Linked DNA regions of Homo sapiens: regions 2, 3 and 4 are each linked to region 1. Evidence: promoter capture Hi-C in 16 types of primary human blood cells and fetal thymus (Javierre and others, 2016). All regions are on one chromosome and are shown on one strand. The core of a region is centred on a gene start or on the middle of the fragment in contact, and the rest is flanking DNA. Distances in the headings are between cores, read along the strand shown. Region 1 holds the start of SPATA46 (spermatogenesis associated 46). Region 2 overlaps ATF6 (activating transcription factor 6). Region 3 overlaps ATF6 (activating transcription factor 6). Region 4 overlaps ATF6 (activating transcription factor 6).

Evidence for each region. The method cuts DNA at HindIII sites, captures the fragments that hold promoters and counts their contacts. A CHiCAGO score of 5 or more calls a contact.
Region 2: a fragment that was not itself captured here is called in contact with the fragment with the promoter of SPATA46 in region 1 in 4 of 17 cell types (M2 macrophages, M0 macrophages, M1 macrophages and 1 more); the score reaches 8.7 in M2 macrophages.
Region 3: a fragment that was not itself captured here is called in contact with the fragment with the promoter of SPATA46 in region 1 in 2 of 17 cell types (M0 macrophages and erythroblasts); the score reaches 5.4 in M0 macrophages.
Region 4: a fragment that was not itself captured here is called in contact with the fragment with the promoter of SPATA46 in region 1 in 2 of 17 cell types (M0 macrophages and M1 macrophages); the score reaches 10.1 in M0 macrophages.

Annotation. Positions count from the first base shown.
Region 1 is chr1:162,374,751-162,380,596 of GRCh38, forward strand. It overlaps SPATA46 (spermatogenesis associated 46), which reads right to left and starts at 2,104. Exons shown (of 3, transcript NM_182581.4): 1 at 1,938-2,104; 2 at 540-653. The coding sequence starts at 2,040. It also overlaps a transcript of C1orf226 not described here. The HindIII fragment of the contact is 3,530 bases long and covers 1,888-5,417 here.
Region 2 is chr1:161,840,840-161,846,508 of GRCh38, forward strand. It overlaps ATF6 (activating transcription factor 6), which reads left to right. Exons shown (of 16, transcript NM_007348.4): 10 at 5,610-5,669. Among named protein-coding and RNA genes, the nearest start is that of ATF6, 77 kb to the left of the region's middle. The HindIII fragment of the contact is 5,206 bases long and covers 1,817-5,669 here.
Region 3 is chr1:161,799,111-161,804,126 of GRCh38, forward strand. It overlaps ATF6 (activating transcription factor 6), which reads left to right. Exons shown (of 16, transcript NM_007348.4): 7 at 2,942-3,162. Among named protein-coding and RNA genes, the nearest start is that of ATF6, 35 kb to the left of the region's middle. The HindIII fragment of the contact is 3,864 bases long and covers 741-4,604 here.
Region 4 is chr1:161,781,325-161,787,173 of GRCh38, forward strand. ATF6 (activating transcription factor 6) reads left to right here. Exons shown (of 16, transcript NM_007348.4): 3 at 588-675; 4 at 2,666-2,772. Among named protein-coding and RNA genes, the nearest start is that of ATF6, 18 kb to the left of the region's middle. RefSeq lists an enhancer at 885-974. The HindIII fragment of the contact is 396 bases long and covers 3,606-4,001 here.

The DNA.
Region 1 (5,846 bases), core at 854-3,353:
AGCAGACGCAAGACAGTGGTAAGAGCAGCCGAGGGCATTCCTTCTCACTGCATTCTTTTTCTAGGGGTACAAAGGGCCGTTGGATCTTGGGGCAGGAGAGGCTGCTTTTAGTTGGTAAGCCTTGGTATTTGTCGAGGCCTTCCCCTCCTGGAGACACCATGTCCACTGACTCCTCTAAGGATAGACACAGACAGGTGACCCAGCGGATAGCCAAACCGGCGGCCTCCCACAGTCCCTCTTTTCGCCACCCATGGCTGTGACCCTTTTTTCAGCCTCACTGCTCATCTTGATCCCTCCACGGCCCACTCAGCCAGAAACTGCTCTTGCACACCAGTTTCAGAGACAGGAGAGGGGAGGCAAGGCGAGAGCCCCAGGCCTGTGGGTGTCTACCAAAGGAAGAAGGGCCAGATAGGAGGCTGCAGGTGACAAGACCGCGCATGGGGGTCCAGCTTCCAGACACCTCTGCTTCCTTAGGGAAGCAGCCCCTTTTCATCCTTAGCCTCTCACACATTCCCGCCCAGAGTCAGAGAAGTCCTCACCTGGTGAGAGCGCTGTGTTCTGTATCCCTTGCCTGACAATGATGCTTTGGTACTGGGGTGGCAGGGCCTGAGCTGGGCTGGATGCCTCAGTGGGTACTGCTGTCTTTGCAATGTCTGGGTTATAGAAGAAACACTGGTGAGCTGAGCAAGGTTGGGATTCCACTTTCTGGGACTCCCCCAGGCATACCTAGGGGCTCAACCTCTGTACTTCAAGGCATCTCAACGCTGAAACAGAACAGTGACCTCTCAAACTCAGCCAGGCAGAGCTATTCTGGATGACATCCTGGGGAATTCTGAATGGGGCCATTTCATTCAGGCCTCAGAAAGATCCTCTGGAAAGTGGGATTTATGATGTAGCCCAGATGACACCTCTCCGCCTGGCCTGCCCCTCACCTAACCCTCCTGCATCTCATCACGCGGATGGCTTCACTCCGCATTGCCAGTCTCCTGAGCATCCTGGGACCCAGAGTCACAGGCTGCAGAGCAATGTTCCATGCCCGCTTTGAGGATTGTCCAGTTGAAACATCTCATACCCACAGTCAGGGTTCCCGTGGGCCATCACTGCACGGCACACCCTGGAGTGCTAACACTTGGACAAAAAGCTGACCTGCCTCAAATCCCAGAATAGCAGCTGTGTTCAGTTTGGGGGACAAATTTATAAATGTCATATATGTAGACAAATGGATGCTTAGGAGGCCTACTCCACTGAGCAGTACTTCTCCATTTTACTGTGCATAGAGATCCCCTAGGGATCTTGTTAATAACACAGATGCTGATTCAGTGGATCTGGGGTGGGAACCTGAGATTCTGCATTTCTAACAAGCTCCCAGACGATGCAGACGTTGCAAGTCTAAGGACCGTATTTTGAACAGGGAGTCCTCAGGGTGTCCAACTTTATTCCATGATGTGCTCATCAGTTTACGCTGCTGCTTAGGCTTCTCTGATTTGGCTAACTCCAAATCCTCTCCAAACTTGTCAAAACAGAGCTAAAACTAGTTTCTACTCTATGTAGACATACTGCCACCTTGAGATTTCATGCACAATCTAGGGGGAAAAACTTGATGATAAATGGAGACTGAGGCAGGAGAATCACTTGAACCCAGGAGGCAGAGGTTGCAGTGAGCCGAGATCACATCATTGCACTCCAGCCTGAGCGACAGGAGTGAAACTCTGTCTCAAAAAAAAAAAAAAAGTTTTCCCCTTTCTTCCCTTACCAAAAATCAATACACAGCAGTAACTACTTACCACAAATGCAGCATTTTGAAAAATTATTTTCTCCCCATGCGTAATTTGACTTTCTCACTAAATCATGGTCCTGTAACATGATCTGGTAGGGTACTCAATTAAAAGCTTCAAAAAAAACCACATCTTTGTGGCCCTAGTGGCACCAAAGTTTACCTGGCAGGCTGGTGGCACGAGAGAACATAATGTCGGGAAAAGCACTCAGGGCGGAGGAAGAGATTGGAGGTCCAGAGATGCTGAGGAGTGAGAAGTTCTCCATATTCTGACCACTGCGGGGGTACAGAGATCACACGCCTGCTCTGGAGAGGCTGGCTGGTTTGTCCAGAGGATAAACATTCTGAGCACAGTTGATGTCACAAGGCACATGATTCCACTACCAACTAGGTTACCCTTTGGAAGATGAATGGAGTCTACTGAAAGCAAGATTAAAATGTGTAAAGATTGTATTTGACTTGCCATTGCCCAGTGGCAGGCCCTGATTGACAATACCCAGAGAGAAGAATGTAGTAGAGATACTGTAGTGATGCTGTCTATTTGTCCCCTTTTATCTTTGTTATCATCAGTTTTCTGTGTTGACACTGTCTACCCCCAGCCCTCCAGCCCTGGAAACCTCTGTCCTGTCTGAATAATCTCCTTCCTTTTCTTCTCCTTTATCAGCCTAATCTCTGTCAGCAAATATTTTTATTGTTTTGTTTTAGTTTGTTTTTTGAGGTGTATATATTTTTCACATTTTCTTTGGAAATTCAAATTTGTAAAAGTTGCAGAAATTAGGCTGGGTGCAGTGGCTCAGGCCTATAATCCCAGCACTTTGGGAGGCCAAGGCGGGTGGATCATTTGAGGTCAGGAGTTCAAGACCAGCTAGACAAACATGGTGAAACCCCATCTCTATTCAAAATATAAAATTTAGCCATGCGTGGTGGTGGGTGCCTGTAATCCCAGCTACTTGGGAGGCTGAAGCAGGAGAGTCGCTTGAACCTGGGAGACAGAGGCTGCAGTGAGCTGAGATAGCGCCACTGCACTGCAGCCTGGGTGACAGAGCGAGACTCCATCTTAAAAGCTGCAAAAAATAAAATCAATACAAAGAACACCCTTATGCCCTGTATCCAGATTTTCCTATTAACATTTTACCCCATTTGCTGTATCCGTCCCCTTCCTCCTGCCCCCTGCCCCATGTGTATGTGTATATACTTAATTTTTTCTGTGAACTATTTGAAGGTAAGTTATAAACACTATGTCCTTTTATACCTAAGTACTTCAATGTGTATTTCCTAAGAATAGGGGCCAAATATTGTTTTCAGTGGTTGGTGCTCTTTTTAGCAAGTGACTAAAGCACAAATGGGTGGCTTACTCAATACTATTTTGCTCATTGCTTAAGTCAGTTTGATGGGGAGACTCTGGGACTCCAGAGAGGCAAGGTTGCCTCTTCGTTTCGCTTGTCCTATAACAACCTTGTGCACTAACGAGGTGTGGAATAAGGTGAAAGATGATTGTGACACTTGGAAGATAAGCTGAAGACACCCCTTTCTAGATTATCACAACATGTCAACTAGATACAGAGCAGGGCTGCAGATCTAGATGGCAGGTATGTTTATGCTGCATGGGGAGCTATGGCCGCTCTGGAAATAGTGATGGGCTTGTTTTGCAGTGCTGTCGAGCATGTGTGAGTGAGGTGTGAGTTAGCTTCTGCACGTGAGAGCCCAGAGTTGTCTTCCTGTGTGTATTTATTCACGGTACTGAAACATTCGAAGGACAATGGGAGAACATGATTCCCCTCGTGTTCCTCCCAGATAGCCTGGTTTGGAACATTAGCATGTATTGGAAAGTAAGTTGAAGCCACATACTTTGGCAGTTTGGGGGGTATCAGCAATTTCATTTGGTCCATTATGGTGTAGAGAAAGCTCATGAGTCTGGGCATCAGCTTATGTGACTTCTAACCCTGCTCCGCCATGAGCTACCTGTGTGATATTGGGCAAATCTCTCTGCTACTTGGTTTACCCATGTTATTAGTTTAGACTCTAAACTGGAATGGATGAACATCTTCCTGGCTAAAACCCAGTGACTGACATGTGGACAGTAGCATACTTGTGAGTGATGCACACAGGACCCCGAGGACTTGGAATTGCATTCTGTCTTGACCCATCACATTTCTCCGACTGCCAACTTCAGACTCTCCCACTGCAACCTCAGACTTAAAGTAAAGGGAGCTTAAAATACTGGGGGGAAATATGGGAGGCAGAATCTCTCAGTGCCTGTGTAGAGTTTTTAAAATGCGACCCGGTTTTGGTTTAGTCACTGAAAAGTTTGTGGGAGCCTGGCGGTTCCAGGGTGCACACCACTCCTCGTAGCAGGTCCCCTGTCTTGTGTGCTGTGTCCCCCCGAGGTATGCTGGTGCTGGTGGCCCAGGCAGGAGGTGACACTCTCAAAGTGACTGGTCACTACGTAAAATGTGTCTTTCTTTTGTTTGTTTCCCACCTGCTTTCCGAGCCCCTTTCTCGGACAGGTAAGATATCCTGTTTTTTTGTGGATGACTTACATCCCCAGATGCCCTCCTCTGCTTGGGTGTGTGCATGTTGGGGGGTACTGTTGGGAGGGCCACCTGGCTGGGGTCCAGTCATCTCTCTGTCCTCCATTGCCATTATTTTCTGAACCATCAAGCCTCTAGTCCTGAAGCAAGAGAGATAATGTGTGGGGGTCATTAGCGTCATCATCAAGAAAGGGACCCATTGCACATCCTCAGACATAGGGATAAAGGGACCCCCCAGCCAGAGCCCCACTTTCACTTTGAATAGAAGGGCAGTTATCCGGGTCTGACCTCAAGAGCCCCTGAAGACCACTCCCATAGAGGGAGTTTTGAGTGGTTTTTATAAATGGAAAAAGACTTGTGAGCAGTTTCCCTACAATGTCAGTCCATCATGCAATTTTTAAGAATTCATATAAAAGTCAAATTCAATTAAACAAACTTATTAAATGCCTACTATCGTGCAAGACCCTAAGCTGGGCATTGTAGAAGATAAAGAAACACTTCAGGAGCTATGGCCCTCAAGGACCTTACCATTTTAAGACAAGGTGTATTTACTGGAAAGACTTAGACAAGGGTAAAGGGAGTGCATGGTAGGCTATCTTTACATTACTTAAGAATTCAGTGCGTTATAGACTATGTTATGAAGGGTAGAGAGCAAAAAATACAGGAAATCCAAAATGGTGCATAATCCAGAGTTCTGTTTATTACAAAGAGTGTTTTAAAAATAATAATAGCTTATAATTTACTAATCACCTTGACAGGTGTTTTTGGTGCTTGCCTTTTTAAAAACGAGTATGTCTGCTCTGAAAAGTCACTTTAAACCAATAAGGAGACCACCAGGGAAATGTCTGATTTGGGAAGTGGTGGCAATTTGCCTTCCCCGGGCATTTCGTACAGTTTCATTGTTGTCTATGTACTTTCTGGTTTGGGGGGAAATAGTTAAATGGTTTGGTTTCCAAATCTTCTTTGCTAGTTTGCGGATGACGTGATTAAAGAAAATAAGAAGGATGTGGGACCTGACAGGCAAATTGTGCCAAAGTGGATGATGTGGCAAGATACACACTTAGGAGAATCATCAGGAGTTGATGACCCTGCTTGCTGTGGAGCGGGCTGGAAGCTTCTGCTGGTGTGGTGGGTCTATCTGGAGCCCAGCCAGCTTGGGCCCTGTGTCCCAGGGATGCTGTCATGCTGTTCCCTGGCAGGTCCTCACCCTGCAGTGGTGCAGGCCACAGGGCTCATCCGCAGAGAGTAGTCTCCACTTCACTTCCCACAGGTTTTCCTCCCTGCCACCCAAAGGCCCTTAGAATATGGCATACCTAGGTAGTTGGCCTAGAAAGGATAGCACCACTGAAACCACAAGAAAGGTTTTCACTGGCCCGGGATACAGCAGTGCAGGGCAGAAAGAACTGCTTTACACAAAAATTCAGCAGAAGAAAAAGTACACCCTAACCCCAGTTACTCTTAGAAGAGGCTCAGTGAAAATAGACACTTAGCAGAGGTGTTCACAAGGAAAGGAGCCTAGTCATCAAATGATCGAGCGATCT
Region 2 (5,669 bases), core at 3,170-5,669, 530 kb before region 1:
CATGTTTCTGATCATAGAGACAGCTAGAGACTTCTTCTTTTTTCTTAATATTTGTAGCTTGTTTTAAACGTACTGAGTAGAACCTGATTTAAGCAATTATACAAAGTTTGGTTAGATTGCTTTATTAATATTATGAACTAGAAACAGTCACCAAATGCGCATTCATTATACTAATCCTTACTATGATTGAGTCATTTCTTTGAGTTCTTGGAAATCTAATTTTTCTAAAATTAACAAAAGGGGACATTTGAATGATGCAAAAGCACTCATGGCAAGAATCTAAAAGTTCATATAAATAATAATTTTCTCATACTCTTTTATACATTTGACCATTACAAGATCTGTCAAATTCCTTTCAATATTTGTGATGTCACAGTCGTACTAAAACAATCTTGAATTCTGGCAGCGAAATGAAGTTCTTACCTGTCTTTCAGATGTTAATAAAAATAAGGGAAATACAAACCTGTAGTTATTCAGATGGTTAAAATTAGTTTCTGTGGGTCATTTCATAGAGTTCAAGTATTTAAATGTTTTTTTAGCTGAATTGGACAATCAACTTGTCTGTAATTTAGCTTAAGAGAAATTCCATTTTAAGACAAAAAAACTACAGGGAATGTAGGCCAAAAAATAATAACAACCAAAAACAAACAAGTGAAAAACGTTAAAAGATTCTTAGCAGAATTTATTAATATATTACCTCTTCAAAATATATTCTAGCCAATGGATAGATAATAAAATTGAGACCCACAGACTATTTGGATCCTAAATTTTGTTTCATCATGACTCCCTTGTTGAAAATACTTTATTGACTCTGTGTAATGTAAATAAGATAATTTTTGTGAAGCTCATTGAATGCGTCTGAGCTCCTTAACTCAAAAAAGGCTAAAAGTTACTGAAATAGCTATGGTTAAGGGTATATTGTCATTACAATGTGATAATCATTACCAAAGTGGGCACTTGGAAAAATAGTGACCACTTATGAGCCAAACCAATCAACATTAAAACTGATTTCCAGTAAGTACAGCTGCCAAGTGATTATAGAGCAGCCTGGATACAGATGGGATAGACTACAAGGATAGTTAAGCTCAAAGCATTTGCCTGTTAACAGCCATGAATTGTGAGGTGAAATGCCAGTTTACATAGTGTTAGTAAAATCATTAAAAGAACAATGATTAGTAGAAGAATTCTTTACAAACCTTAAAGTATCAATAGTTCTGAATTAATTCAATTTATAAATTATCCATAAGTCATACAAATAGCCACTTTGTACTTTTTCATGTCCCTCCAAACTCCCCCAGTCCCTATTTCCAAACTGTCCACTTCTGTTGAATCTATTGTAAAAATGTGTACCTTTTAGGGAACTGAGATAGGAAAGATGTGAAAAACAGGATTAGTTTAGAATAATGGTTCTCAAACATTGGTAAAGTCACCTAGACTAGTACAACCACTGCGGAAAACAGTGTGGAGATTCCTTAAAGAACTAAAAGTAGAACTACCATTTGATCCAGCAATTCCACTACTGGGTTTCTACCCAGAGGAAAAGAGGTCGTTAAACAAAAAAGATATTTGCTCATGCATATTTATAGCAGCAAAATTTGCAATTGCAAAAATGTGGAACCAACCCAAATGCCCATCAATCAACAAGTGGATAAAGAAACTGTGGTATATATATATGATGGAATACTACTCAGTCATAAAAAGGAATGAATTAATAGCATTCGCAGCAACCTGGATGGGATTGGAGACTATTCTAAGTGAAGTAACTCAGGAATGGAAAACCAAACAGCGTTATATTCTCACTCATAAGTGGGAGCTAAGCTTGGGATATAGGTGCACCAAAATATCACAGATCACCACTAAACAACGTACTCATCTCACCAAATGCCACCTGTTCCCCAAAAACCTATGGAAATAAAAAATTTTAAAAAAAGATAATTATTAATCCAGTTTTTGGTGAATCAGTGAGTGACAGTGGTTATAGTAGTGGTGGTTTAAATCAAGGAATAAATGTTTTCAAAGTGAAAGGAGCACATCCTACCACACAGTTCAAAAACAATCACAAATATGGCAGGCTTGCTGAGAGCTTTCATACATCATTTATTGTCATGCACTTGTATGATTATTGTATACTGTACACATTTTTATTTTACAATGATTTGTATTTTCCAATGCGTTTATTGCAGTTCAGTGTGGTAGATGGCTGGAGCCTATCCTGGTAGCTCGGCGCACAAGTCAAGAATTAACCCTGGACAGGGTGCCATCCCTTTGAAGGGTGCACTCACGCATGTTCCGCACACTCATTCAGACTGGAGCCATTTAGACGTGCCAGTTAACTTAACATGCACATCTTTGAGATGTGGGAGGAAACTGGAGTACCCACAGGAAACTCATGCAGACTTGGGGAGAGTATGCAAACTCCACACAGACAGTGACCTTGGCTGGGAATTGACTTTTTTTTTGTCATCAGTGTTATCACAAAATGACATTGCATGAACCAGCATTGTTTGAAGACTTGCTGTATTCTGATTTTTTTTATCTTTCATCTTTGAGTCATTAGCACCAAATATAGTTCTTGGAACATAATAGGTATTTACTACATGAATAAATTAATGGATGAATCATTCATTCTGGGAAATGTTGTCAACATAGTGCAGTGATGGAATTCCAATCCTGAATCCAAATCCTGACTTTCTTAGTTATTTAGAGCATAAACTTGGGCAAACTGTTTAAACTCTTTGAGCTTCAACTTCCTTTGAGCCTTCATTTCCTTAGTACATAGTAGGTACTCAAAAGTGGTAGCTACTGTTAAAATATACTGTATTTGCATCTTAGAAGAGCATTTAACATTCTTGTGATATCTTTATGGTCAAGATGGGAAATTTTGACCTAGGTGGTATTTCAGTTAATTCATAAGTAGATAAACCTACGTTTTTACAGATTTAGAAGGAGCTTTTTATTTTAATAACAACTCAGTACAGGATATTGATGGCATGCTGATACTTTCTTGGAAGAATTTCTTTTGCTAATGAGGAGCCTAAAAGTTCTTGATTGATTAGTAGGTAAGTGTTTTTAAAGGAATTGATATAAATTATTCAGCTGGATCCTAAAACTCAGTTACACAAATTCAGAGTTGAGGTGGGATAGGAAGAGAAGCAAAAGTAATGGTTCAAAATCGATTTGTGTGAAAGGACTTAGGGTTTTAATTACACTGGGCTCAATATAAATAGAGTGTAATATAACTGCCAGGAAAGCCTATGCGATATTAGACTGCATCAGTAGAACAACAGTGTCTAGAACAAATGGAGGAATTATCCTTTTCCATTCTGTAGTGGTCATACTACCTAAGAAGTACTGTGGCCAATTCTGGACATTACCTCTGAGAAGCATGTTTATAGGACAGTGATCAAATATGCTAAAGGAACTTCAGACTATGCTGTAAAGAGGAGCATGTGAAAGAATCAAGAAACTATAATCTTGAAAAAGAAAGCCTGGGGTAAGGGGGATGTTAGATGTCTTTGGACATTAGAAGAAGGCTTACTTAGACTTGTTCTGGATAGCCACAGAATCCAGAACTAGTATCAAAAGGTGGAAGTTTTTTTGTTTTTTGTTTTTTAAAAAGGAAGCACATTTCTAGTTAAAACAAGGGGAAACTCTTAATAATTAGGGTGGTAGAGATACTGGAGGGATCAGGGAGTGAGTACTTCCACCAAACAGGAACATTAGTATATGGATATTTCACTAATAACAATAGCGGGGTCAGTAGGGGTTGAATTAATTGAGATTCTCTAAACTTAGGGGAAAGTTCTTAACTTTGATTTTATTCATAGCTTACTTTCATAATTAGAATTTTTGGCACCATGCTTGAAAGAAAAAGTAAACACTTTTTTTTTAAAGTTAGTTTCCTAAAGAAGAAATAAAATTTCTTAGTTGTCATCACACTCTTCATTTGACTTCCCTCCCAAATTGCTATTGTTTTCTGCTTCTCTCATGTTTTCTTAAATACTCATCAGGGTGACTTTTCTTAAGTTTAGACAGACATTCCACTAGGTCTCTTACCTCATTTGTGGCAAGGTTTATATTGATGTGTGACTGCTCAGGTAAACCTTTAGTCTGAATGATACAGCTATGACAAAATATAGCCTCAGTTGTAGCAAAATTAAATGTTACACAATGGCTTTAATTGGTGGTACACCTTTGAAGAGTTTGCAGTATGCCCAAGTGCTAAAGCATACCATGTGAGAATCACTGGGTAGCAATGATTTCTGGGGGTGAAGAATTGAGGAGAATGGAAAATATATTAAGGGATCAGAAAAATATTCTAGAGAGGTGTGTCTGCTCCCCGTTTTCCCCCAACACTGATTTCCCCAAATTTGGAGACAAACTACTATTATCTCAAAGAACCGCTTTTCCTTTAGAACCACAGGCTCCTTAACTACCCTTTTTCATTAGCCTTACTTTCCTCTTGCATTTTATCCCTCCAAATAGAATCTTTTGTGCTTCTCTAGGGAGATTCCCTTTGTGTTGAATTTTATGAGTAGTGTAAATTGTGTGGGTTGCATCATAAAACAAAGTGCGAACACACACACAAAGTCTTATTGATGAGCCAAGTTCCTAAGCACTATTAATGAGTTAAAAGTGTTAATTAAGGCTGGGCGCAGTGGCTTACATCTGTAATCCCAGCACTTTGGGAGGCCAAGGTGGGAGGATAGCTTTAGCTCAGGAGTTTGAGACTAGTCTGGGCAACATAGTGAGACCTCATTTCTACTAAAATTAAAAAAAATAAAAATTAGCCAGATGTGGTGGCACATGCCTATAGTCTCAGCTACTCAGAGGGGCTGAGGTGGGAGGATTGCTTGAGTCCAGGAGGTCAAGGCTTCAGTGAGCTGTGATTGTGCCACTGCACTCCAGCCTGGGTGACAGAGTGAGACCCTGTCTCAAAAAAAAAAAAAAAAAAAAGTTAAGTAGGCAGTATTTGCTTATATGTATATATTTTGTTGTTTTCTCCAAATGCTTATGCCTCTGAAGAGGATATACATTGATGAGTGAAGATATTAGGGAGGGTAGGGAGAAAGAATAGAAGTTTTTACATATAAATACAAATAGAAGTATTTAAAAAATTTTTTTTTCTTAGCTTTATCTGATAGCCTGCCTTCTGGAATTGTGAAAGGCTAACAATGAATTTGACTTTTATTCCTACTTCATTTGAAGTATTCTCTCATTGAAAACACCAGTTTGCACCATCCAGGAGGCCTTCTTATTTCAGTTATTATTGGAGTTTAAAATTTGTTTTTAGGTGTGTCGTATTTATTTCTACTTCATATATACATGTAATTATCAAGTTTTTAAAACATATAGAACACTACTATTGTTTAAACAGTTTATAAATAAGGTACTTTTATACTTAGAAAAATTGTTTTTGATATGTGCAGGTTACCATGCTAAGGATTTGAACACCTTCAGTACCCTATTTGTACTTGCGTCTATGCCTAGCATTTTTGTTACGTGCATGGATCTGCAAAGGAATTGTGGTTTGTTTCACAGCTGCATGTAGCAGGCATATGTGTGACATATTTTTATTTCAGCTATTATTTCCTGTTTTTTATTTTCAGCATGTTGGAACAGGATTCCAGGAGAATGAACCCTAGTGTGAGCCCTGCAAATCAAAGGAG
Region 3 (5,016 bases), core at 1,423-3,922, 580 kb before region 1:
TATAAAGACACACGCACACATATGTTCATCACAGAACTATTCACAATAGCAAAGACATGGAATCAACCTAGATGCCCATCAGTGGTGAACTGGATAAAGAAAATGTGGTACATATACACCATTCAATACTACACAGCCATAAAAAAGAATGAAATCATGTTCTTTGCAGCAACATGGATGGAGCTGAAGGCCATTATCCTAAGATAATTAATGCAGGAACAGAAAACCAAATACTTCATGTTCTGTCTTATAAGTGGGAGTTATACATTGAGTACACATAGACATAAAAAGGGGACAATAGACAACAGGGGCTACTTTTGAGGGTGGAGGATGCAAGGAGGGTGAGAATCTAAAAATTACCTGTTGGGTACTGTGCTCATTACCTGAGTGATGAAATAATCTGTATGCCAAACACCTGTGACATGCAATTTATCCATGTAACAAACCTGCCTGTCTACCCCCTGAACCTAAAATAAAAGTTGGGGGAAAGAAAAACTGAATCCAAGGGAAAACGAGAAGGTAAAAATGTTTAATGATCATTTATGCCGAAGTATTAATACATTGTATCTACTCCAAATCCATGAAATTATTTTTAGATCTTCTTATCTGGGATAAAATGCTGTTTATTGAAATTCTGCTACTTTCAGTGTGTTTTTTGAGGCCATCTGAAACAAGGGCTTTGCTTTTATAAGTTATCTTTTTTAGCCAAGACAGATGTTCTTGACAAACAGGTGTTCTGAAGCTTTATTTTGATTTTTAGTTTTCCCCGATCCTTTGAAATATTGAGCTGAGTTTTACATGGGTCAACCTGTCTGAAAGCATAATGCTTTTTTTTTCTTAAACAAATTATAAATTTACATGATATTTTAGTTGCCAGTTATTTTAGTACCTTCATTTTGTTAGATAGGCTCAAGCAGCTGTGGATGTTAGGCAAGGCTTTCAGCACCTTATAAAAATCTGCCAGATCTGAAAGGAAACACTTAGCAGGCAAGTAAAATTTTTAATAGATTAGTGTTATGAGTTGTATAAGTCTTTAGGTTAATGGTACAGGTTTAGTACCCCTTAAATGAAATGCTTGGAACCAGAAGTGTTTCAGATTTTGGGTACTTTTGGATTTTAGAATATTTGCATATACATAATGAGATATCTTGGGGACAGAACCCAAGTCTAACATGAAATTCATTTATGTTTCATGTATATCTCATACACATAGCCTGAAGGTAATTTTATATAATATTTTAAATAATTCTCTGCATGAAACCAAGTTTGCATACAGTGAACCATCAGAAAGCACAGTTGTCACTATCTCCTGTGGACAATCTGTAGTTGTTTGGCACCACCATCATTCCTGGCTCTGAATTCATATGCTACTGACAAGCAATCATTTTCTTACACTTATTCACAAATTCACACCTAAGAACTTAACAAAAATTATGACATACCATTAATACAGTGAAAAAATAATGTGTGCAGAGTAACAAGGCAGGACAGTAGAATCACCAGAATACCAGTGTCAGCTACTACACAACAGCAACAACAAAAAATGGCAGCTTTCAGTCTCTGCCTTTGATGCTGTTTTCATTAAAAGCCTACTGTACCCTCTATTTTATGTCTTCAGGTGAGAAGAAACATCAGAAGCAGTTGAGAGACTGGAAGTGGGTCCTCTAGGGATGAGGAGGCATTCTGCTGGATGACTTCTAAAAATGTTTTCTATGGAGTCATCTGCCTCATTAACAAGTTTTTGTTTTAGAAGTCTCTTTTTGATTTTGTAAACTGACATGATTTCTTTTTCTGTTATGACTGTATGCTGCTTTAGTCCTTCACTAGGCCCATCACACATTTTTACCATGTCATCTATAGGCACTTTTTCTGCAGCGTTAACAGCATCATCTTCATTGTCATTATTATAGATTGAGTATCCCTTATCCAAAATACTTAGGACCAGAAGTGTGGAGTTTTCCACTTGTGAAGTTGTGTCAGCACTCAAAAAGTTTTGGATTTTGGAGCATTTTGGATTTTGGGTTTTTGGATTAAGGATGTTCAACCTCTAATAATTCTCGTCAGATTAGCATAAATTTAAAATAATGATACCTCTGAATACTCAGAAAAGAATTGAAGGCCATTTTTGGGGGAAGAGGGAAAGGGCTGGTATCATCTACAGACTATTTTGAATCACAGATTTATGTTTACCGTGATTGTTAGCTAAGATTTAATCTCAAATGGTTTTAAGTTTTTTGGTATTTGTAGTCTTTTTTTTTTTTTTTTTTTTTTTGTCCTTTTTAGGGATCTGCCTGCCTCAGCCTCCTGAGTAGCTAAGACTCGAGGCACATACCACCATACCTGGCTAATTTTTAAATTTTTTTTTGTAGAGACAGGCTATCACTATGTTGCCTTGGCTGGTCTCAAACTGCTGGCCTCCCAAAGCACTGGGATTACAGGTGTAAGCCACAGTGCATGGCCTGTAGCTCCTTCTTCTTCTAATATTGAGTTACTAAGTTTATGTTCAGATATTTTTGGTATTGTATGCATTTGTAAATCCTATTAATTTAGAATACATGACTCTCCATATTCAGTGTAAAAGATTTGTTATTTATAATAAGACAAATCCTTTTAGCACTAATAAATTTCAGAGGTTAATTCTTAGAAATCTAGGGATTACAGCAAATTTGATAGCTGTTTAGTTGAGAAAGATAAATAAGAAAGTATATTAAAGTATATTGTTAATGATAACTCAAAGAGATGAATTTAGTTGGTCACATTAAAAACATAACAAAGTCACCATAAGCGTGTGCTGCTATTGATCCAATGTTTTAATTGATGGTGTCCAATCCCTTGGTGTTGATCTTACCCATTACGTCTGCAGAAAAGACCTAATTATAAGCTGCTTCCCCTGCCACAGTAGTTGTGTACCCTTTGATTCCTTTTCTTTTTTCTAACGCAGGCCAGACGGTTTTGCTGTCTCAGCCTACTGTGGTACAACTTCAAGCACCTGGAGTTCTGCCCTCTGCTCAGCCAGTCCTTGCTGTTGCTGGGGGAGTCACACAGCTCCCTAATCACGTGGTGAATGTGGTACCAGCCCCTTCAGCGAATAGCCCAGTGAATGGAAAACTTTCCGTGACTAAACCTGTCCTACAAAGTACCATGAGAAATGTCGGTTCAGATGTAAGTTTTGAAACTTAGTGCTTCTCTTAATGCCTGATTTAAAAACCAACAAAAAAACACCTTTTGCTTTTGTTGCCTTGTTTTTGTTTTTTTTAGAGTTTCTTATATTGCATCAAATAAAAGAGTGTGCTGAATTGCACATCTAGTCTTTGGAGGAAAATTAGGGTAAGGCTTACTACGTTAGAATCTAAGTGAAAAGGTTTTTGAAAGTGAAGTGGTTTGATGAAAAGCAAAGTATGCATACCTCCCTCTTCTTTACTCCTTCTTTAGAACCAACCCTCTTATTATTCTCTTCAAGCCCTTACACCCTCAACCCAGTCATCCACTAATATTTTACAGATTCAACGTTTCCTGATTGAAATGTTTTAGCGATCTTCAGATAAGAGTCTATAGATTACTTTTTAGGTAGGTTTTATATTTAGCTTTCTTCCTTGCCGTTTTGAAGTATTTTCACCACTTCATAATGATGACTAGCTACTCTTAGGAATTCTGTCTCTTAGTGATTATTTGGTACTTTCCCATTTTTGCAAACCTTTAAATTTTCTAGCATGTTGTAGGGATTTCTTATAATTTATAAATCACATAGTTTCCTAAGACCTGTCACTCTCTAAAGCCAGTTACTGCACTTGCCAACTAACTCTTGCTTTCTTTCAAAATGATTGGAAATAACTTATGTATTAAATTGAACATCTTGGTCCTAAAATTTAATGAATGTTAAAGCTATATAGTCAAACAGTGGATTCTCTAAAGTTACGATTGGGAAAGCAAAGTGTGTATGTTTTCTTTAAAATAAAAATGGATACTACTAGTTGTTAATATTACTACTTCATCCTTTCTTTAGGTAGAATGCATTTGAAAAGTAATTTTAAAATCCTGTGGGTTATGCAAGGTTGTTTATCAGACTACTGTCTGATCTGTCTGCCAGAATTTATTAACCAGCATGTCAGTGACCCATTTAATTATAAAATTGCTCCACAGTTGCATAAACAGTAATCTCAGCCAGCAATATTGTAAAAATTCATAACAAAGGAATATTGTCTGGTGAAAGTAGAACATCCAGTTTCTAGAATAAGAGTCCCATCGTTTGTATAGGTATTGAAAACAATGCATGTCAAGACATGGAATAGGAAAATTAGTGTTGCTATGAGACTAGAGACCATGGACAGTACAGGATTAGGCTTGACTGTTATGTTGGTTTGTTTTGAGGACTAGAAGAGGTAAGCACAATGCTTATGGCATAATAGGCTCTAATACATAGCGTGTGTTTCAGTTGAAGATGAAACAATGTTGCTGGGATGGGAAGGTGGTGAGCACAGGATAGAGGCAACTGGATTGGCAAAATGTTGATAATGATGGAAGCTGGGTGTTTATTTTTCTATCCTTTTGGTGCATGGAAAAATTTCTACAATATGTTAAAAAAATGACAATAACAAAAATCCAAAAGCTTTCTGTGATATTTTCAATTAAAAAGTTGTGTGACCAATAAGAAAAGAGTATGATTTTCATGGGAGACCAACCAGGTTAAGAATGATGAAAAAGGATTTTTAAAAATAATGCTTTGAAATTTCTTTTTTTTTGTTTTATTATACTTTAAGTTTTAGGATACATGTGCACAATGTGCAGGTTAGTTACATATGTATACATGTGACATGCTGGTGCGCTGCACCCACTAACTCGTCATCTAGCATTAGGTATGTCTCCCAGTGCTATCCCTCCCCCCTCCCCCCACCCCACAACAGTCCCCAGAGTGTGATGTTCCCCTTCCTGTGTCCATGTGTTCTCATTGTTCAATTCCCACCTATGAGTGAGAATATGCAGTGTTTGGTTTTTTGTTCTTGCGATAGTTTACTGAGA
Region 4 (5,849 bases), core at 2,554-5,053, 590 kb before region 1:
ATTCATAAAAGTTTTAGAAATTTAAGAAGTATAGAACTGTAGAAAAAAGGAAAATTACTCAGTGATTCATAAAAGTTTTAGAAATTTAGGAAGTATAGAACAGTAGAAAAAAAAGAAAATTACTCAGTGGTAACTATCCTCTTTATGATTCTTGCCTGTCTTTTGGATATATCTATATTCTTTCTATTGTATATAGAGATTATATTATGAATAGCATTTACTTTGTCTTGTTTTTCTTAATGGCAATGGGAAAATGTATTTTGCTGGATTTCCCTTAAGATAAAAGACACATTTTTGACTCCTGTAATGGTCATTCTCATAGAAAATAATGAAGCCAACTAAATGTTTTAAATACTGAATCCCTTACCTCTTTCCTAGTTGTTGCTGCTGTGCTTCAAGTAACTGAATTGATTTTATCTCTAGGCTATCCAAGATGTATTCTCATACAAGACTGACTTAGAGTATTCTTTTTACTAGGTTGGCTAATAGCAGTTAAATTATTTGTGCCAAATTGTGTCTCACAGTTTGATTTTAAGATGTGTATGTTTTATTCTTTTAATATTCTTTTGCTGATTTGAAACCTACAGGAAAACAATTTTGATAATCTTGATTTTGATTTGGATTTGATGCCTTGGGAGTCAGACATTTGGGACATCAACAACCAAATCTGTACAGGTAATTATGTGTTTCACTGGTAAAAGTTTTAAAAAGATCAATTTTATTTTGTAGTTTGGTCATACTCAAAATTAGGTGGGGTTATTGGGCTATTCTGGTAGGTTAAAAGATTCCTGGTGTTATGCATTCTACTTCTGGTATGGCAATTATGTAAACAAATTTCTTGCCAAAAATGGATATGAGGAGTTTCATAGTTATGTTTCAGTAGTGTAATGAATGAACAGTTCATATCAGAAATAGAAATAGTGATTTTGAATTATGAATAATGTCTCTGTATAAGATTAACCTGAGAACCAGACAGGGCTTAGGGAATCAAAGGGAAGAGCCTGGGTTACCAGAACCTAGGAACTTGGTGGAGGAGTCCCATGCATTTAATACATGTACTTCTAAGAAGGGGCAGCACCTGGCTGATACTAATATCTTTAAGGGGGCCTGATGAGGTCGGGGTTGAGTATACTGAAAGAAGCCAGAACCTGGAGCAAATTGCCAGTGCTGGGATACAGCTGATGGTAGAATGAAGAAAAATCCCTTCTCCTCCCTTCTAGCTTTTTCTAGTATCCCCTATTGACAGGACCTAAAAGGATGCCAGCTGGGAATAATTTATATCACCGATTATAGAAAGTGGACTTAGTGCTGAGAGACAGTGAATAAATAACCAGCACATTCTCCTATCTAAATTCCTCTCTACCTCTGCACTACCTATTCCTCTTCATTTTATGTATTTACTTATACTGTTTCATGCCTGTTTGCCTTCATAGAATGTGGGATACACAAAGTCAGTGTTCTGGTTTTATCGTTTGACAAACTAAATCTTAGTTGCTTAAAGCAACAACCATTTTATTAGATTGCTAGAATCTATGGGTCACGAATTTTGACTGGGTGCTTACGAATTTTGACCGGGTGCTCCAAGGATGGCTTGTCTCTGCTCCATGATGTCCAGACCACAACTGGGGAGATTTGAAGATTGTAGTAGCTTGACATTTGGGGGCTAGAATCATCTTGAGGTTTCTTCACTCATATGTGTGGCACCTGGGGTGGAATGACTTGAAGACTAGGACTACTAAATGGAGTGCCTGCATAGGGCCTCTTTGTGTGGCGTGGTGTTCTCAGTCATGGTGGTCTCAGGGTAGTCAGACTTCAAAGGCTCCAAGTATGAGTGTTCCAGCACACAAAGCAGAGGCTGCATTTCCAGCTTCAGAATTCACATAGCATTACTTCTATCTTCTCTTGATTGAAGGAGTCAAGCCCACCTAAATTCTTGGGGAGGGGAAATCGACTCTACTTCTTGGTGGGAAAGTGGCAAGATCACATTGTAGAAGATCATGAGGGAAGATCATGAAGGATGGTAGATATCGTATGGCTAATTTTGGAAAACACAGTCTGCCATCCCCACCCTATTCTATCTTTGACACCAAGGGATACTGCCTGGGCCATAGTTGCTCAGTACATTTTTATAGGATAAATTAATAGTTTAAAAGATATGAACATTTTTTATGAGTTTGAATTGTATTGTCAAAAATGCTTTCCAAAATATTTCCTGTTTCTTATTTTTTTAAATTTTTTGGGAAGCTATAATATTTTGCATATGGTAAAATATTCAAAAGGTACAAAAATCTGTATAGTAGAAAAATGTCTCCTGCTTTTATTCCTCAGCCAACAAGTTCTATTTTCCAGAGACAACCACTGTTACCAGTTTCTTCTGTTTACCCTTCCAGAGAATTAGTGCAGATGCAAGTGTACACATATATATACACACACACACAGACATACATATATACCCCCTCCCCACATATATATATAATTTGTAACACAAGTGGAAACATACTAGATATATTGTTTTCTGCATCTTTCATTTTCACTCGTTATATTTTGGTGACCTTAGCTTCCATATCTGATTGAATTTTAAAAGTAGATTTTACCTTCTTTCTTGTTCATTTTATTATAAGTTTTTATTGTCCAGTGGGTAAAACCTTTCCTCCATGTTTTCCAGTTAAAGATATTAAGGCAGAACCTCAGCCACTTTCTCCAGCCTCCTCAAGTTATTCAGTCTCGTCTCCTCGGTCAGTGGACTCTTATTCTTCAACTCAGCATGTTCCTGTGAGTAGCCAGTCTTTTACAATGATTTTGGTTATAATATGCTATCTGGAAAATATGTATATGGAGGAGGCAGTTAACATTTATTGAATACTACTATGAGTTATATTGTCTCATTTATTGAGGGAACTGAGACTCAAGAAAGAGCCTTGTGGGAGCTAGAAAGTTGTTAGTGCCTTTGGTTTTGCTCTCTTTTCCCCTCTGTTCATGCCTCCATAATTTCATTGTTTCATTTGTTTCATTGCATTTTAACAGTATCCAGTATTTGTTTATTGGCTTACTGTCCTTTCTCCCACCCTTTCTTTCTCCTCCCTATTAGGATATACATTCTTTATATATGGACATAGAAGAATGTAAGATGGTCAGTTTTTATATCTCTTTAGTCACAGCATCTAGAATGATTGCCTTAGTTTGGGAATGCCTAGTGCTACCTTTTGAAGGGGCTCACGTTTTTATAGAAGTCTGGTAGCTCTTTTAAGAACACTTCTGCTCTGTGTCCAGACAAAAGCCCTGAGGCCAGGAAAAGGAAGTACCTGATTTAGGTACTTTTTAGAATGGGGAAAGGGAAAGTATAAGAATAAAAAAATCAAATAATATTTTAGTATATTATATGTGCTATAAATTGTGGTATCTTTGTTCCTGCAGGCTCTACATTTAGTTACTAAATCCTGGTGGTTATATGCACATATTAATTCAAGGATTTATCTTTTCTGCCCCTGCCAGGCCATCACTATCTCACCTGGATTAAGTCAATAGGATTTTAACTGGTCAGCCTTACAACTCCTCAAACCTTTCTTAGCAGTGGAATCTTCAAAGAGAAATCTTTCAGTGTCACAAGCTTTACTGTATCAGTCATTTGCTTAAAACTTTTTAGTAACTTCCCAGTCCTTACAAGGATGAAATTTAAATTCCCAGAGTACTAGGCTTTCCATGATCTGGCCCCCATTTACTTTTCCAGTCTCTTTTCTTGCTATCCCCTCCTACTTCCACATTCCCCTTAATTTGAGCCCTGTGAGAGTTCCTCTCTGAGAGCTCCTATGCACTCTACTCATTCAACCGCTGTGCCAGGCACTGTTCCAGATGCTGGCAGTGAACAACAGCAGTGAGATTGCTGCTGTTACAGTTCTAGGTTTTTGCACATCCTCTTTCTTCTGCCTAGAATAGCCCCATTTTTTTCTTGTCTTGGAAAACTCATCCTTCAAGTCCCAGTTCAAAAACTACTTCCTTTATGAAGCTTTTCTCTGATTGCTGCTATTGGTAGCTCTCTGAGGTCCCACAATTTCTCCAAATGATTTAATTTTTTAAAAAATTAATAATTACAAAAGGTAGCATACTGTATACCCTGTCCTGTACCTTGTTTTTTTAGCTTAGCAGGATAACTCTTAATTTCAGAGTATATAATTTTCCCATTATGCTACATAATGTTTCATTGCATGGCCTTATCATGCTTAATTTAGTGATTTCCTTATTGATGAGTATTTGTGTTGTTTTTAGTCTTTTCCAGACCCAATTAACCTGTACATAAGTCTTTTCCAGACTCAAATAACCTATAGTAAATAACCTGGTACATAAGTCACTTTATATTTTTACCAGGATATTTTTGGGATATATTTCAAGAGGTGGGATTGTTGACACCAAGGTAAATACACTTGAATTTTGCTAGATACTGCCAAATTTCTCTCTATAGGGGTTGTAAAATTTTACATCCTCATCAGCAGTATGTAAGAGGGCCTGTTTTCCCATCATCACTCCACAATAGGTTTTGTTTTATATCTCTTTTATTATAAGTATGGTTAAATAATATCTATTCATATGTTTTATATGTTTAAGGCCTATTTGCATTTCTTTTTAAAAAATGAACTGTCATTTCAAATTTTTGTTCTTTTTTTTTTTTTGGAGATGAACTCTCTCTCTTGTCTACCAGGCTGGGGTGCAATGGCATGATCTCGGCTCACTGCAACCTCCGCCTCCTGGCTTCAAGCAATTCTCCTGCCTCCTCAGCCTCCCGAGTACCTGGGATTACAGGGATTACAGGCACCTGCCACCACACCCGGCTAATTTTTGTATTTTTAGTAGAGACAGGGTTTCACCATGTTGGCCAGGCTGGTCTCGAACTTCTGACCTCAGGTTATCCACCTGCCTCGGCCCCCCAAAGTGCTTGGGATTACAGGTGTGAGACACTGCGCCCGGCCGTTCATTTTTTAATTGAATTGTATTGGTCTTTTTCTCTTTAATATTTTAGGTGCTTTATTATATATTAGGATTATTAGTCCTTAGTTTGTGAAATAAGCTGCAAATATTTTTTCCCCAATTTTTCTTTTGTCTCTTTGCTTTATTTCTGGTGTTTATTTTTCCCCAGGTGTACTGTTTTCTATAGCCAAATTATTGATCTTTTCTTTAATTGCTTTTTTGTTCACTCAAAGGAAGGTTTTCACCACTGAGAGGTTATAAAATAATTCACTCATATTTTTACTCTTTTTTTTTGCTTATGTTAATTTTTTGTTTGGAACAATCTCAAATTCACAGAAGTGTTGTGAGTACCTTGCAAATAACTTGTTTTTTCCTTATGCATTTCAGAGTAAGTTACCAGTCCGATGCCCCTATCACTCCAATACTTTAGTGTCTACTTCCTACAAGCACAGATATTTCTTAGCCATAATACAAGCACAAAATCGGGAAATAAACATTAATATGTTACTATAATCTAACCTTCAGCTCTCGTTTAAATTGTGCCAGACATCCCAGAGGTGTCCTTTAGACTATCAAAAGGACCCAGTTCAGAATCAAGCATTGCATGTGGTTATCTTGTCTTTTTAATCTTGTTCAGTATGAAACAGTTCTTCATTAATCCTTGACTTTCTTCACCTTGTCACTTTTGGGGATTAGGAGTTAGTTATTTTGAAGAGCATTTCTTAGTCGGGTTTGTCTGATGTTTCTTTAGGATCATATTCAGGTTTTATATCTGTGGCAGGAATGTCACAGAAGTGCTGTCTGTGTCCAACTTTTGATGACCCAATTTTGATTTTTTCTAATACTGATTATTTTCACTTTGATCCCTTCATAGATGTTATCTGCCAACC